6 separate regions of the Homo sapiens genome follow, and all the other regions are linked to region 4. The links are contacts of gene promoters, found by promoter capture Hi-C in blood cells and fetal thymus (Javierre and others, 2016). All regions are on one chromosome and are shown on one strand. The core of a region is centred on a gene start or on the middle of the fragment in contact, and the rest is flanking DNA. Distances in the headings are between cores, read along the strand shown.

What was found. The method cuts DNA at HindIII sites, captures the fragments that hold promoters and counts their contacts. A CHiCAGO score of 5 or more calls a contact.
Region 1: a contact is called between a fragment that was not itself captured here and the fragment with the promoter of HINT1 in region 4, in 1 of 17 cell types (activated CD4 T cells). The highest score is 5.9, in activated CD4 T cells.
Region 2: a contact is called between a fragment that was not itself captured here and the fragment with the promoter of HINT1 in region 4, in 1 of 17 cell types (monocytes). The highest score is 5.2, in monocytes.
Region 3: a contact is called between a fragment that was not itself captured here and the fragment with the promoter of HINT1 in region 4, in 1 of 17 cell types (naive CD8 T cells). The highest score is 5.3, in naive CD8 T cells.
Region 5: a contact is called between a fragment that was not itself captured here and the fragment with the promoter of HINT1 in region 4, in 2 of 17 cell types (monocytes and total B cells). The highest score is 5.9, in monocytes.
Region 6: a fragment that was not itself captured here is called in contact with the fragment with the promoter of HINT1 in region 4 in 3 of 17 cell types (non-activated CD4 T cells, activated CD4 T cells and total CD8 T cells); the score reaches 7.8 in non-activated CD4 T cells.

The regions. Positions count from the first base shown.
Region 1 is chr5:131,557,481-131,560,180 of GRCh38, forward strand. The region is part of intron 5 of RAPGEF6 (Rap guanine nucleotide exchange factor 6); the gene reads right to left. Among named protein-coding and RNA genes, the nearest start is that of RAPGEF6, 76 kb to the right of the region's middle. The HindIII fragment of the contact is 1,170 bases long and covers 794-1,963 here.
Region 2 is chr5:130,767,645-130,770,344 of GRCh38, forward strand. No RefSeq gene overlaps it. Among named protein-coding and RNA genes, the nearest start is that of HINT1, 400 kb to the right of the region's middle. The HindIII fragment of the contact is 3,664 bases long and covers 1-2,700 here.
Region 3 is chr5:131,474,062-131,476,761 of GRCh38, forward strand. All of the region lies in intron 16 of RAPGEF6 (Rap guanine nucleotide exchange factor 6), which reads right to left. Among named protein-coding and RNA genes, the nearest start is that of RAPGEF6, 160 kb to the right of the region's middle. The HindIII fragment of the contact is 2,890 bases long and covers 1-2,700 here.
Region 4 is chr5:131,163,853-131,166,552 of GRCh38, forward strand. HINT1 (histidine triad nucleotide binding protein 1) reads right to left here and starts at 1,404. Exons shown (of 3, transcript NM_005340.7): 1 at 1,243-1,404. The coding sequence starts at 1,353. RefSeq lists enhancers at 133-793, 794-1,453, 1,724-1,773 and silencers at 584-1,223, 1,434-1,513, 1,524-1,573. The HindIII fragment of the contact is 11,885 bases long and covers 1-2,700 here.
Region 5 is chr5:131,534,151-131,536,850 of GRCh38, forward strand. The region is part of intron 6 of RAPGEF6 (Rap guanine nucleotide exchange factor 6); the gene reads right to left. Among named protein-coding and RNA genes, the nearest start is that of RAPGEF6, 100 kb to the right of the region's middle. RefSeq lists a silencer at 2,346-2,640 and an enhancer at 2,396-2,625. The HindIII fragment of the contact is 2,225 bases long and covers 288-2,512 here.
Region 6 is chr5:131,495,922-131,498,621 of GRCh38, forward strand. RAPGEF6 (Rap guanine nucleotide exchange factor 6) reads right to left here. Exons shown (of 28, transcript NM_016340.6): 12 at 2,522-2,686. Among named protein-coding and RNA genes, the nearest start is that of RAPGEF6, 140 kb to the right of the region's middle. The HindIII fragment of the contact is 1,544 bases long and covers 582-2,125 here.

The sequences.
Region 1 (2,700 bases), core at 129-2,628, 390 kb after region 4:
GGGGTTTTCTACATACAAATCATGTCATCTGTAAATCACAGTTTTATATTTTTTTCCAATCTCTTTTTTCCCCTGCCTAAATGCATCTCCTAGCCAATAGTTTTGGTATGGTGAGCTTTCTCCATATATTCCCAAATGTTGGGAGAAAGTTTTCAATGTTTATTATAGGGTTTCTGCAGGTAACAATTAGGTTATAAAAGTTTCATTCCCTTCCTAGCTTGCTAAAAGCTTTTAAAATCATGAACGGGTTCTGATTATCAAGAGCTTTTTCTGCATCCATAGAAATGATTACCTGATTTTTTTCTTTAATTATATCAATGTAGTGAATCACACATTCAAATGCTAAATCAATTTGTGATTCTGGAACTAAATTCAATGTAGTCATGTTGTTTTATCCTCTGTATGTATTACTGAAATTGGACTACCTAAAATGTTAAGATTTTTACATTTATTTTCATTTAAAAATACTAACCTATAATACTGCTTTTGTATAATGCCCTTGTTAGGCTGTTATAAAAATTAAAATAGGCTCATAAAATAAGGCAAAGAAGTTAAAGTTTTTCTATTTCCTATTAGATGCTAAGTATTATTTCTTCTTTAAATGTTTGGAAAAATTTACCAGTGAAGCCACATGGGTCTGAATTTCTAAATGAAAAGGTTTATAATTACAGATTCACTTTCTTTTCTAGATATTGGCTTGTGCAGATCTTCTGTTTGTGTGTGTATATGCCAGTTTGGTTTTTTTTTTTTTTTTCCAAGGAATTTGACTAAAACTTCAAACTTACTTGCTTTAAGCTTTCCATACCATCTCCCTTATTAGCATTTTAAAAATGTTTGCTAGATCGTAGTAGTGAATCCTTTTTCCTTCCTGATACTGATTGTATGACATGTTTTATTTTTGATTATCTTTGACGGGTTTATCAATTTTCTTAGTCTTTTCTGAGACTCAACCTTGTCCTTTGTCAATCCTCATTATTCTAAGTTTGCTTTTATGCCACTGATATTTATTTTTATATTGATCTTTACTATTTCTTGGCTTGTGATTACTATTCATATGCTGCTCTTTAATTTCCTGACATGAATACTTTACTGTCAGCCTTTGCTCTTATAGCACTAGGGCTTAAATTTCACAACAAGAAAGGCTTACGCTGAATTCTACACATTTTAATAGGTCATATTTATTCATTTAAAATATTTTCTAATTTTCTAAGTAATTCTTCTTTGACAAGCGATTTAGAGCATACGCCTGAATTTCAGAAGTTGTATTTTTTTTTCTAGCTGTGTTTTTATAATTGGTTTTTAAATTAATTTCATGGTGGTCAGAAACTATAAAATTTTAAATACTGAAATTTTGAGACTTGCTTTATGTCCCAGCATGTGGTCAAATTTAAAAAACATTCCATGTGCACTTGAAAAGTAGGCGTACTCTGTTGTTGATAAGTGTAGTGTTCCCTGTTATGTCTCTTAGGTAAAATGTGTACATGATGAGGTTCAAATCCTCAATATCCTTACTGACTCATGGTGGTTGTTTTGTCAGTTACTTTAGAGGTATATTAAAATCTCCTGGCCAGGCAAAGCGGCTCACACCTGTTAATCCCAGCGCTTTGGGAGGCCGAGGCAAGAGGATCACCTCAGGTCAGGAGTTCAAAACCAGCCTGGCCAACATGGCAAAACACTGTCTCTACTAAAAATACAAAAATTAGCTGCACGTGGTGGCGCACACCTGTAATCCCAGCTACCTGGGAGGCTGAGGCAGGAGAATCACTTAAGTCTGGGAGACAGAGGTTGCAGTGAGCTGAGATTATGCCACTGCACCCCAGCCTAGACGAGAGAGCAAAACTCCATCACAAAATGAAAATAAAAATAAAAATAAAAATAAAAATCTCCCACTGTGATTGTGGGTTTGTCTAGTTCTGATTTTACTAAGGACAATTTTTGTTTTATGTATTTTGAAGGCATGTAAAGCTTCAGGATTGTGTAACCTTGATACAATTAACCTTTTATCACTATACAGTACCATTCTTACATTAAATAATGCTTCTTGCCTAAAAGTATACTTTGGGCCAGGCATGGTGGCTCACACCTGTAAGTCCAACACTTGGGAGGTTGAGGTGGGAGGATTGTTTGAGGTCAAGAGTTCGAGATCAGCCTGTGAAACATAGCAAGGCTGTCTCTACAAAAACAATAACAACAACAACAACAACAACAAATTAGCTGGGTATGGTGGGGTGCATCTGTAGTCCCAGCTACTTGAGAGACTGAGGAGAGAGGCTCACTTGAGCCCAGGAGTCCAAGGCTGCGCTGAGCTATCGCACCACCGCACACTCTACTCTCGGTAAGCCCCTTTTCTTTAAGAAAAAAAGAAAAAAAAAAAAGAAAAAAAAAAGTTAAAACAAGGAGATTACTTTACAATGTGTCAGATTAAGATGACTAACTTATCAGGTGATCAAGAATGTGTTCAGTAACAGACACTTCCAATCACCAGTGGAGTTAATCAAATCTGTACAAATAGACAAAACCATTTGACCAGGCATTTTTAACAATTCTGAAAAATTTCACCTATTTTGGATTGTTTTCTCCTATAACTCATAAAGCATTTAAAATTATACCAATCATCAATAAATTTAAATTTTTGAAATTTAAAAATTACCAGCCATAAATACATATACTTGATGTGACTTTTTATTTTATATACTTGTT
Region 2 (2,700 bases), core at 179-2,678, 400 kb before region 4:
ATGATACCAGCCATTCTGTCAACAGTTGCCGTGACCTCTCTGCTTAAATTTCATGAAACAGTATACTCTCTCAAACTGAAAAACAATGTGATGTCCTTGTTTTACAGAGAAGTCACAACTCTGTTAAGCAAATTTAACATAGATCAGATAAAGTCATTGATTTATGATTAGAAACACAGATAGGTAATGTTAATTAGATGTGTCTACACTGGAATATTGTAGCCTTTCCATTTAAAAATTATTTTTAAATAAGTTAATTTCTTTTTCAGTGAAATCATTAGTTCACCAAATTTAATTTTTATTGTTTTGATTTTTGGCTACAGTTAACCACAATGTATGGTAGAACACTTATTCAAGTAATATTTCTGAATATCTACCTTGTCCCATTCATATATAAATATAAATACAAGTACTCTATGATTGGGGAGGACTGTGCCTGCTTTCTCTAGCTAAAAGAATTAATATAGGGTGATTCCCTTAGATAAAGGTCAAATCATTTAAGTTAAATTGCTCTGGAGATTTAGATTTAAGTATGCCTGAAATGTGTCATATAAACAGGATTTTGCATATTGTCATGTCACCTTATGTTTTGCAATATTTTCTTTTCACCTTTTGTTTATTAACCAAAACCATTTATGTCCCATTAGAGAGAAAAAAAATTCTGATTTATTCCTAACCTCTTTTATTCACTAAATTATTTCCAGCCAATGCCACATAGCAATGGTTAAACCACAAAGAACTAACAATCAAAATAAATCTACATAGTCAAAAAACAAACAATAATTCATTCACCATGAGAGTTGAGTAGCTTTCAAATGTGAAAAATAAAGCTGCTTCTTAAATTAGGACAGATTGGATTGAACTCTTCTACAAATACACCATTTGTAATATCCTGAAGATTAGTGAATTTTCCCAGTAATCCTCTGCAAATAAAAACAACTAATAGCCAAGAAAGAAGAGATTTTTTTCTATTCCTGTTCTAGGCAATACTGGTCCTCCACAATAATAAGGAAAGAACAGCAAATGAAACAGCAAACAGCTAGAGTTGTTCCAGTTCCCTGCAAAGCTAGCCAGGGGCCCCAGCAAAGTGAGCTTCAGCCATTCTCTAGTCCAAGGCTCTTAGAAGATGCCACTGTGTGGCACAGAGGAAACAATGCAGAAAGGAAACAACTACATGATATATTACTTACAGAGACTTCAAGCAAAATCAGTGGGTCAAGAGAAGGTTAGAACTCTTAAAAATTTATCTTGATTGGCTTTAGGGTACAGTCAACTCTTCTTTATGAAACACAAGTTCTTCCACTCATGGGCTCACCACGTTATTTTTGGCACAAACCTCTCTCAAATTTCTCCCTATATCTTTTCAATGGGAACTGATGGAACTAATTCTGCCTTTCACTACTATTTATATTATTTATAAATAATTTCTCATTTTAAGCTCATTACTATAATATATATCCCACCAGGAGTAGTACATTCTAAGATTCCATCTTTATTGACTTGACTAAACTCCTACTGTGATCTTGGAAGACCTTAATTTCATGATTGCAAGAAAACAAAGAATTCTATCATCCTGACTATATTCATTAATTTCTTGTTCTCTCTTCCTCTCTCTCTGTCTCTCTCACTCTCTGTATAAGTTTTAATTAACCTATATATTTTCTCTTAAATTTAACAACTAACCCTAAGTTCCTTCCCTTAAAAAAAAGTTTAAGCAAGAAAAGGAAAAATATAATTTATTATGTCTCAAGTATATTCTCCATTGATACAACAAATTTCATTAAGAGTGGGTGAGATGCAGTTATAATGGCTATTATCAAAAAAGACAAAAATAACAAATGCTATTGAAGATGCAAAAAGGAACTCACACACTGTTTTTGGGAACGTAAATTAATACAGCCATTATGGCAACCAGTATGGAAGTTTCTCAAAAAACTAAAAATAGAGCTATCATACCATCCAGCAACCCCACTTCTGGGTGTTTATTCCAGGGAAAGGAAATCAGTGTTATCAAAGAGACACCTGTACCTCCATATTTATTGCAGCACTATTCACAACAGCCAAGATATGGAATCAACCTAAGTGTCCATCAATAGATGAATGAATAAAGGACATGTGGTACATATGAGCAATGAAATACTAATTCAGCCATAAAAAGAATGAAATCCTGTCATTTGCTGCAATGTAGATGGAACAGGAGGAAATAAGCCAGGCACAGAAATACAAATATTGCATATTCTCATTATTATGTGGGAGCTTAAAAAAATGTATATCTTGTGGAGGTAGAGGAAGTTGAATGACAGATACCAGAGACTGGGAATGTGAGGGTCAGGAGGTGAAGAAACGTTGGTTAACACGTAAACACACACTTACATGGAAGGAATAAGTGCTAGTGGGGTTTTTTTGGTTTTTTGTTTTTTTGTTTTTTTGAGACGGAGTCTCACTTTGTCACCCAGGCTGGAATGCAGTGGCGCGATCTCAGCTCACTGCAAGCTCTGCCTTCCAAGTTTATGCCATTCTCCTGCCTCAGCCTCCTGAGTATCCAGGACTACAGGCACCCGCCACCACGCCCGGCTAATTTTTTTGTATTTTTAGTAGAGACGGGGTTTCACTGTGTTAGCCAGGATGGTCTCAATCTCCTGACTTGGTGATCTGCCCACCTCGGCCTCCCAAAGTGCTGGGATTACAGGTGTGAGCCAG
Region 3 (2,700 bases), core at 95-2,594, 310 kb after region 4:
ACTATCTCCCCCAGGAATACTGAAAAATCAGGTAATATAGGCGAATGTTGTGGTGTAAAGGAAAACAGGACTTTAATTCTTAAGAATGGACTTACTTTTACAAAAATTAAAATGAGAATAGGGCGGGGCACATTGGCTCACCCCTGCAATCCCAGCACTTTGGGTGGCAGAGGTGGGTGAATCACCTGAGTCAGGAGTTTAAGACCAGCCTGGCCAACATGGCGAAACCCCGTCTCTACTAAAAATACTAAAATTAGCCAGAAGTCGGGTGGCTCGTGCCTGTAATCCCACCTACTCTGGAGGCTGAGGCAGGAGAATCGCTTGAACCCAGGAGGCAGAGGTTGCAGAGAGCAGCCTGGGTGACAGAGCAAGACTCCGTATCAAAACAATAAATAAATAAAAATAAAATGAGAATTGTACAAACACAGAAGGGAGAATTATTTATTTTACTCAGTTTATATTAAAAAGTAGAGGCAGGTCCGAGTAAAGGTACTAGAGAAACAGGAAGTGCTTTCCTGGGGAGAGAAGGCAGTCTAATTTGACAGATAAAGCAAAGGAGATATCTCATTTGATAAATAATTTGCATTTACTCTAAATTGACTCCTTATAATTTGGTTTGTATTCCTAAAGGTTAGAGTTAAATGTTCTAAGGTTAGGTAAGAGAAAATAAGAGGAAAAAGGGCTTTCAAAGGTATTTAAAGTATACAGAAAATAAAGATTTTTTAAAAAAACAGTCTTTCTTTAATTGACTTTTGAAAACAAACACATCAATTTTTGGACACAGAGGGTGCGACAACAATCCAAGGAAGCAAACCATTAAAGAGGTTGTCCAGTCCTACTAATAATTAAGTAGAAGCAACTTTAACAATGTTAAAAAGTTACAATTTTCTATTAAAGGGAATTAACTGCATCAACTGCAGCAAGCTGAATCACTATACAAATTAAGATGTACAGAAAATACGAAAAGTCCTTATATCTCTTGCTGATGCTATTTAACATCGCTTCTGCTTTTGAATGCTCAATAGAGAAAACACTGTATAGCTATAAATATGTAAAGCTGGTTACAAATTCGTAGTAATTAAAGTGTGAGGTGCATAAATGAAAACTATACTGCTATGTACAATCCATGCTATGCCATGAATGAAACAGTATTTAGTTGGCAAAATATCCATGCTTATTTGAAAGCTGAGTTGATAAAGCCCATTTGGCAAGTAATTGTATCATTCTTACCAAAACAGTCTCCTGAGAAGGTGATGCAGTAACAGAAGAAAAATCGTTTAAAAATATTCCTCAATACTTCCCCAACACTAAATTTACTTAGGATAAAAGTACTTGGTTTCATATTATGAAACTAAAAAGGCTACATAAATATCGCCAATATGTAAATAAAATAGAATCCCAATATTTAAAAAGCAAACAAAAATACGTTGACAAGAAATGGGGAGGAAAAATATAATTCCAGTTAAGCAAGCAAGGCAGTTTATTTCTGGGATTGTTACAATGAATAACACAGAGATGTTACTTAGGCAACTGTGATTTTAAAAACAAAATAAAAGCTATGTGATTTTTAAAAAAGAAAAACAGATTTCCTGAAATGTGAAGAATTCTTAGGTCAATAAAAACCATACTTCCGTCTTAACTTACAGATGTAATTCAAACTAGTAACATTTTTCACTTTAATTTTTAGGAACATTCTTTTAAAATTATATCATGGTTTGTTTGGGATTTTGGAATTATCTATTCTTATCTCAAGTATTTGTTCTTTCCTTACATTCTTTCTTTTCTATGACAACTCATCCTCTACTCTTACAGAACTGAGTGCTGCTAAAGGCAGAGAACAAGTTTCTGTTCTTGGTGCCTCTTCCAAAGAGGTCTGGCACACAGGAGATGCTCAGAAATTGTGAAACTGAACTCATTAAACATTTTTTTCAATTAAAAAATAACAAATGTTCAAGAAGAAAACTTGTAAAATACAGAAAGAAAGCAGAGAAGGAAGGGAAAAATTACCTATGAAACTATGCCTTCCAAAAACCACAATCAACATTTTGATATTTTTCCTTCTAGTCATTTTTCTGATGTGTAGTAGAATTTATTTAACCAATCCTTGTAGTTGGACATTTAGGGTGCTCCAACTTTTAGTGTAGATAAAACAACTTGGAGCATCTATATATAAATCTTCATCTAATTACTATTAGAAACAGAACTACTGAATCAAATAATTTTGTCATTTTAAAATATTTATTGGCTAGTGCGGTAGCTCAAACCTGTAATCCCAGCACTCTGTGAGGCTGAGGCGCGTGGATCACCTGAGGTCAGGAGTTCCAAGTCAGGAGTTCCAGACCAGCCTGGCCAACATGGTGAAACCCTGTCGCTACTAAAAATAAAATTTATTTATTTATTTATTTATTATTTTTTTGAGTCGGAGTTTCACTCTGTCACCCAGGCTGCAGTGCAGTGGCACGAGCTTGGCTCGCCACAACCTCCATCTCCCTGGGTTCAAGTGATTCTCCTGCCTCAGCCTCCCGAGTAACTGGGATTACAGGCATGTGCCACCATGCCCAGCTAATTTTTGTAGTTCTCTTGCCTCAGCCTCCCAAGCAGCTGGGATTACAGGTGTACGCCACCATGTCCAGCTAGTTTTTTTATTTTTGGTAGAGATGGACTTTCACAATGTTGGTCAGGCTGGTCTCAACCTCCTGG
Region 4 (2,700 bases), core at 154-2,653:
TTTGTCTCAGGAGTAATTCTACTGGGTACTCCCTACAAAATGCTGATTCATTTAGAATGCTTCCTGCCGTTCTACAGTTGGACTTCGGTGGTTCAAATGTAAATTTTTCAAGAACCATTTCTCAAAGGCAACTGCGAACTTTAAAAAGAAATATTTTTTCTAAAACCAAAGAATTTCCCCTGAGTAGAGACAAAGTATTTTTTTTTTTAATTTACCTAGAGGAACCTAATTAAATTTTTGATAACGTTTTGAATCTAACCGACATTAGTAGAATAAATGTTTTTCTTAGATTTTATATTTCCTAAATTTAACAAAACTGTTTACAAAATTTGTTCTATCTAAATCAGCCAATCTGCCCAGCTTTATCTGAGATCCAATCCCAAAAATACAACTGGCCACTAAATAATTTACACAAGATATCTCAAAGTCACATCAACTGGGATTTCACCTACAAGAAGTCAACAAAAACTACAGTCTTAGTCTCTTGGCATAAAATTACTTCCTGTTGAATACAAAAAGAATCATTCAGCTGTTTGTAAGTCCAAAATGTTCAGCGGGAGAGGTCAACGGAAAGCAAATCCCAGACGCGGGCCCACTTCTTATCTCAGGAGATCGCCTCGCTAGCCCAGGGTAGGCCTTGGGGTGGAGATAGGGATAGGGGTAGGGGTGAGGGTGGCAAGCCGCACCCCGCGGAGGAAGCCGGCAGGCCCAGACGGCCCGCGCACCTCCCAGCGCCCCTGGGGCCCTCGAGCACAATGCCTTGCTGAGCAGCGCCCAGGAACGCCGGGCCCTGGCAGGCCGGCTGTGCGCGGGAGATCGCGGAGATTGGGCCTGAGTCAGGGCGCGATCGGGTTTCTCTCTGTCAGGCAGAGCGCTGGCGAGATTTCGAGATTCCTGATACAGGCAAGGTCCGAGGCAGCCGGGGAACCGGCGGGCTTCCACGCGGGGGCCCCAGTGCGCCCCGACACGCGCCCAGGCCCCGCGGTGCGGCACTCAGGGCGCCCGGCGGCCTGGCCCGCGCCCGGGGCAGATAACGAGTAACCGGAGCGCCGGCACGCGCCGGCAGGCCGCCTCGGAGTGCCCGGGCCCTGTCCGCTGGCTGGGGGCCCGCTGGACCAGGGCAGCCAGGTCCCCTCCCGTCGCCGCTACACTCGCGACCCCTCCTCTCCCTCCGCGAGAAACCCGAGGATCCGCGGACGATACCCACCTCAGCAGGCGAGAGAGGTGGTGCCCAGTACCTACCCGGTCATCCTCAAAAATGATTTTGGCTGGTATTTCCTTGCGGATGATCTTCCCAAAGATCGTGTCGCCACCAGGCCGAGCGACCTGAGCCTTGGCAATCTCATCTGCCATCTCGGCCTCTCTCCCGCGCGGCGGCCAGAGGAGAGGCTCGGAAGAAGGGAGGAACCCGCAGAGCGTGCGGCGCGAGAGGGCGCAGCCAAGCCTGCGCAGGTGCCCCGGCTCTGGCGCCCCACCTAATCTTGCGCGTGCGCACTGGCGACCTGGGCTGCGAGTGCGGCCAGCGCGCTAGAGCGCCTCAGGGACCTCCGGCTTGGGGAAGTTCCTGGTCTTGAGCTCCAAGGAGATTCCTAAGTCGTTTTTCTATCCTCCTTTCTTGTCTCCTGGGGAATGCAGTTACTGGTATAAACCCTTCGTCTGCCTATGGATGCTTGTAGGGAAAGTTGGATACTGTAACTGACAAGATTTGATAATTTAAGTGGTGCTGGCTGCAACTTAGCACTTAGATTATTTAAGGTCTTGCTGCTGCAGCAGATTTTAAGTCCTCTCTTCAACAGAGTTTTTTTCTCTCTCTACCAGTGGTTCTCAATCTTGACTACACATTAAGATCACTTGGGGAGCTTTTAAAAATCCCCGTGAACCTGGCTGCAGCCCAGATCCATTAAATAAGAATCTTTGGAGATGAGCCCCAGGCATCAGTAGTTTGTAAACCTCCCTAGACTGCTCTGCAAAGAATTTTTCCCAGCAGCAATCAACATAATGTATTAATAAAATGACCCACTTTAAAAAAAAAAACCTTCCTTAATCCCACATCCCCCTCCGTATCTTTGCTCGTTTTATAAAGAAGTTTTCTACATACCATGTCTGCTTTCTTATCTTTCATTTTTGAGTCCATTTCCCTCTTGTCAAGGTCACTAAGGACATCCATTTATAAAATCCTATAGACAATTACAGTTATCATACCAGACCTCTAAGTGTACGTATTAAGAAAAAGTATACCTCCTCAATGCCTTTTTTTTTTTTAGATAGATTCTTGCTCTGTCGCCCAGGCTCGACTGCAGTGGCACAATCTCGGCTCATTGCAACCTCTGCCTCCCGAGTTCGAGTGATTCTCATGCCTCAGCCTCCCAAGTAGCTAGGACTACAGGCGCGCACCACCACACCTGGCTAATTTTTGTATTTTTAGTAGAGACAGGGTTTCCCCATGCTGGCCAGGCTGTTCTCAAACTTCTGACCTCAGGTGTTCCACCCGCCTCAGCCTCCCAAAGTGCTGGGATTACAGATGTGAGCTCAGCTGCCTTTTATGATTACATTACTACCCTTGTCTTGGCAAAATTATTGAATGTGGTTGCCTTTAATCTCAAAAGTGTCCATTTGGTACTTTTGCTATCAAAGACATTACTGGGACAATTCGTAAAATCTAAATAATGCCTATAAATTAGATAATAGTTTTGAAGTCAT
Region 5 (2,700 bases), core at 150-2,649, 370 kb after region 4:
TTTTGGGGAAAATGGGGTGTGCAACATAAGAGGAGATGTTACCTGGGAGACAGGTCTTTTAACAAAGGACTCCACTGACTGCAGAAGAAACATCTTGTTGTTAAGCACAAAAAAAATAAGTTCTTCAATATCTTTGAGAAAAGTCTGAGTCACTTTCTGAACAACACTATGCTGCCAATCTGAATTACACTGCTACTTATAAAACTAGAATTTAAGTTAAACTAAGTATAATTTTGAACAAAGACAAGTTATGCTTTCAAAATATGTAATTATTTAGATTTTCATAAAGCTTTTAAGAATGTTTTTCTGCCAAAATTCCAAAAGACACAATACCAAAATACACAATACCCGCATTTAAATATAAAATTAAATCTCACAAATGCAAACAAGCATGACTAGTTTTCTAAACATAAAACATGCAATATTTATACAGGTTGGTTTTCAAGCACCAATGTGTTTTTTTTTTTTTCAGTTTAATTTAAATCAATCATACGTGAGTTGGAATTCCACTTGATACTTAATATTGTACATTAATTAAAATCTAATGTTAATCATTCTTTAAAACAGAAAAATGATAGTAGGTACTTTGTATGTACATGAAGACAAACTTTCACTTAAGATAAAATTTCTAAAAGATGAGTATTTTACACATAAATATCAGTAGCAAGATTCAAGAATACCAAGAATTTCAACACCAGACAGTAATTATATTCATGTATAGTACCAACAGAATATATTATAGCCGAATCAAAAAGCAAAATTTTAATGCACACCTTTCCCCCTTTTTATAAATCATGCTGATCAACACACAAAGAAGGACCTCAAGCTGGGCAAGGGAGACAGCCATCTCTTAGCTGCTTTAAAAAACTGCTGCCCAGTGTGAGAAATGCAATCCACTAGTGCCATATGTTAGACCTACTGTAGTAAACACCAACTCAGTAAAGGAACAAAATTCTCTTTTCCTTTAGTTTGGCTTGTAAGTGAAGATGACATCATCCTTTTCCTTTTCTACCAATCATCTCATAGTATCTTCGATTCCAGGGAACTGTATAGTGAACCTATCATGCTAAATCTCCCTGTGTAACAATACTAAGAAAAGAAACAGGCCAAATTCCATACTCAACACGGGGATCCACCAGCATTCTGAGGAAATAATGACTTCACCTTTTAACTACTGAATGAAGAAATAAACATCCTTTGAAGAGAATAGTAATTTATCAAATAACTAAAATAAATGACTAGGTGAATAACCTATTTTTCCCTTGCATCACTTTTAGAATTTTATCACGATCTCATCTCATTATCTTATCAATTCAAATGAATTAAGTGCAGCAAAGGAGAATGTCCTGATCTACCTATTGTCTAGGAATCACTACAGGACAGCCACTTATGAACACGTTTCCCCTGCATATGAAATGCCATGATGCTAACCCTTATTAATGAAATCTTTAGCTTTAGAAAGGTCTTTTGCACTACTATAAAATAGAGCAATGTATGTTGACTTTGCAAAGATTCAAATCATGACAAAATACTTTTATAAAAGTGTAAATGCCATGTAGTTATTAAAATTTATGTTAACTGTGTATATTATTTATAAACAAAAATACAAACTGAAATACTTAAAATCATATTGTTTAGAAAGCCAAAGATAAGGTTCTGATAGTTACTAAACTAACTGTAAACACATCTTTTATGTTAATATGTGACAACACTGAAAAGAAGGACAGAGAAAGGTTACCATAGATGAAGGTAAGCCATAAGAGGATAAACATTCTAGGCATTATGAAAAACAAACAAAACTAATGATAACAAAAACTGGATTTATACTAACCCAGGCATTTTATTTACTTATTATATTTTTAAATGGAATTTATTCCCAATCTGCAATGAAATATTATAATCATAATTTAGAGAAGTCAAACGCCAAAGAAGTTAAAGAACAAAAGAAAAATTCTGTAGTTTTACAAAATAAAGAGGATATTCATTTCTGTATTTTAGTTATATTTGGTTTTTGAAATATAAACTTAAATTGTACTGATTTACATAGTGAAAACACTTTAAGTCTTTTGGAAAATAAATGAATAAATGACTGAAATGATCATAGGTAACATACAAGCCCTTTCAAAGGATCATAACAATCTTTTCCACCCGTTTTCCCCCATGTTTAACATGAACATCTGAAATGCATCTTTGCAGTTATCAGACACAGTTAACTCTAATTACTGGTGCCCCTTAGGACTTCTGCTTTCAAACTGCATACCTATTCCTCAGCCTTCATGAAGGAGGGGAGGCAAGAGTACCAACGCTCTTTTATTCTCTTGTAAGAAACAGTGTGCTTCAGCATACTGTCATATATATCCACTAACTGATCACCCCCATTTTTGTTGAAAATCTGTCACAGCCACCAGCTGGACACACATGCACTATGAAATATGATCCACCCTTAGGGAGTAATAGAGGAAGAAAAACCAAGAAGGAGAGAGAAACCGTCATCATCAACCAAGGTGATGTAAGCTTCTATAATTAGAATCAGTGAAATTGAAAGAACAATAAAAGGCACCACTATGCTTCTGCTTTCCGTCTACACTGCGTATCAAGCATCTTCATACCTGCACAAAAGGATACATTTTGTATATAGTTACTCAAGTATATGCAAACCTAAAGTTTCAAACAGCGTATTAATTTTCTTCAAAAAGAGAG
Region 6 (2,700 bases), core at 104-2,603, 330 kb after region 4:
ATGTCTATTTCAGGTAGCACCTTAAAATGCAAACTTCATGTCATAAAGCAGGCAATCCTATCAATCAAAAATCCATACCGAAAGCGTTTCCATGGTCAAGAACATGTTTAACCAAAACGGTAACAAAAACAAATCTGAGTCTGGTGCAGTGGCTCACACCTGCAATGCCAGCAACTCAGGTGGCTGAAGCAAGGAGGATCCCTTGAGTCCAGGAGTTTGAGACCAGCCTGGGCATAGCAAAACCCTGTCTCTATAAAAATTAAAAAACAAAACAAAAACCCTTACAAATCTGAAACTTCTTTCATTATAAACACTGTAAATTTTCAAACTGCAGAATCGTTTACTTTGCTTCAGAAAAGTTAAAAATTAACGAATGTAAGCTGATTTGAATAACATGCCTAACAATGTAAGAAATGAGTCATTTTTTTTAAATCGTGGTAGAATCCACATAAAATTCATCATTTTAATGATTTTAAAGTTCATAATTTAGTACCTTAACAATACTGTGTAACCATCACCACTGTCTAGTTCTGAGTTCTGGAACATTTTCATCACTCCAAAAGTAAACCTCAAACTCATTAAGCTTTCACTTCCCATTCTGCCCTCTCTCCAGCCCCTGGCGGCCACTAGTCTGCTTTTCTGTCTATTTGTCTGTTCTGGCTATTCCACATAAATAGAATCATACAATACCTAGCCTTTTGTGATTGGCTTCTTTTACTTAGCTTAATGTTTTCAAGGTTCATCATGGTGTAGTAAGTATTAGTACTTCTTTTCTTCTTATGGCTGAATAATATTTTATTGTACGGCTATACCACATTTTGTTTATCCATGATGGGCATTTGGGTCATTTCTTCCTTTTGGCTATTGTCAATAGTGCTGCTACGAATATTTACGTCAAGTTTTCGTTTGCACACCTGTTTTTAATTCTCTGGGTATTTACCTAGGATTAGAATTGCTGGGCTATATGGTAACCCTATGTTTAACTTTTTGAAGAACTGCTCAAACTGTTTTTTCCACAGAGGTAATACCATTTTACATTCCCACCATCAATGTGTGTAGGGTGGGGGTGGGGAGGAGGGTTCAATGTCTCCATACCGTTGGCAATGTTTGTTACTTTTTCTTTTTTCCCCCTTTTTAAAAGCCATCCTAGTGGGTGTAAAGTGGTATCTCATTGAGGTTATGACTGCATATCTCTATGATTAATGATGCTGAACATCTTTGTCATGTGCCTGTTGGCCATTTACATATCTTCTTTGGAGAAATGTCTATACAAGTCCTTGGTCCATGTTTAAACTGTGCTGTCTTTTCGTTGTTGAGTTGTAAAAGTTCTTTATGTATTTTGGATATTAAACCTTTATCAGATATATAATTTTCTCTTATTCTGTGCATTGTCTTAACTTTCTGGACAGTGTCCTTTGATGCAAAAATAATTTTAATTTTGATGAGGTCCAATTATCTCTTTTTTCTTTTGTTGCTTGTGCTTGGGTATCATATTTTCATATTTGAGAAACCAACGCCAAATCCAAGGCCATGATAATCTACCCCTATCTTTAAGGCATTATAGTTTTAGCTCTTCTGTCTCTGACCCATTTTGGGTACATTTTTGTTTATAGTATAAGGTGGTAATCCATTTTCATTCTTTTGCATATGGATAATTATCACTAAATCATATTCTTGTTCATTTCCAAAGCATGCCTTTATTTTCTTGGCAACCAAGGTAAATATATTTAATTCTAAGAAAAAGGGTGAGAGGTGTGCAAGCCTGTAGTTTTAGATGTTAGTCTCCTAAATAAAAGAATTCTGCAGTTTACCTGCAACTAGTTTATTTCCTTTAAAATATAACTCAAAAAGACACACCAGACAATTATGATCCTACTTTTATTTTCTTGAAACAACTTATTTCTTACCAATTTGTGGAAGTATTACTAGTCTTTCCATTAAATGTGCAAACATATCCCATGAAATAAGCTAATTTATTTAAAATAGTGAACAACATTTAATACAAAAAAATACTCAAAAGGTAGATTTAAATAAGTCACAGGAGAGACATATTAAGGTTTGATAAATTGTTTTCAAATGATTGTGAAGTCTGTAACTCAAGAAAATAAAAATATTCCCATTTTGAAGCTTAAAAGCAATCTGCCCTCTTAAAAAAATGTATTTGATGAATATTCTTTCTAAAATATTAAATCCGTTTTAAAATGTTTTATTGATCTCCAGAAACAATCAAGTATTTCAGTAAAATTCTAAAATACTCTCATGTAACTATTATGTTTCCTGAACCTATAGCTATACCAGAGCTTTATTTCAGTTTTTGCCTTTTAAGGCTCTCGTCCACTTTTAGCATGCTATTCTGTCATAAAAGTAAGCAGAGAATGTTTATACTGATGGTTCAGGTTCATTAATTTTTTTAGGTGTACTGAATCTTATTATCATAATAAACAGGTAATCTATCAACTATAAAAGTTTCATGAATAAAATTTTGGGTTAAAATCACTTTCATGCCCCTTATAAAACCAACCTTATCTCTTAAGCTGTCGATCTTAAACCATTCCAATAGTTTGATCCCAACATCCAAAGGACTTTCAAGAAATGTCCTGTAAGTTAATAGAAAATCTTCTATATAAGTTGGATCCACGATGGAATGTTCTTCTATTAAATGCATTATGAGACGCTCAGGTGTTGCCTAAAAATCCAAGG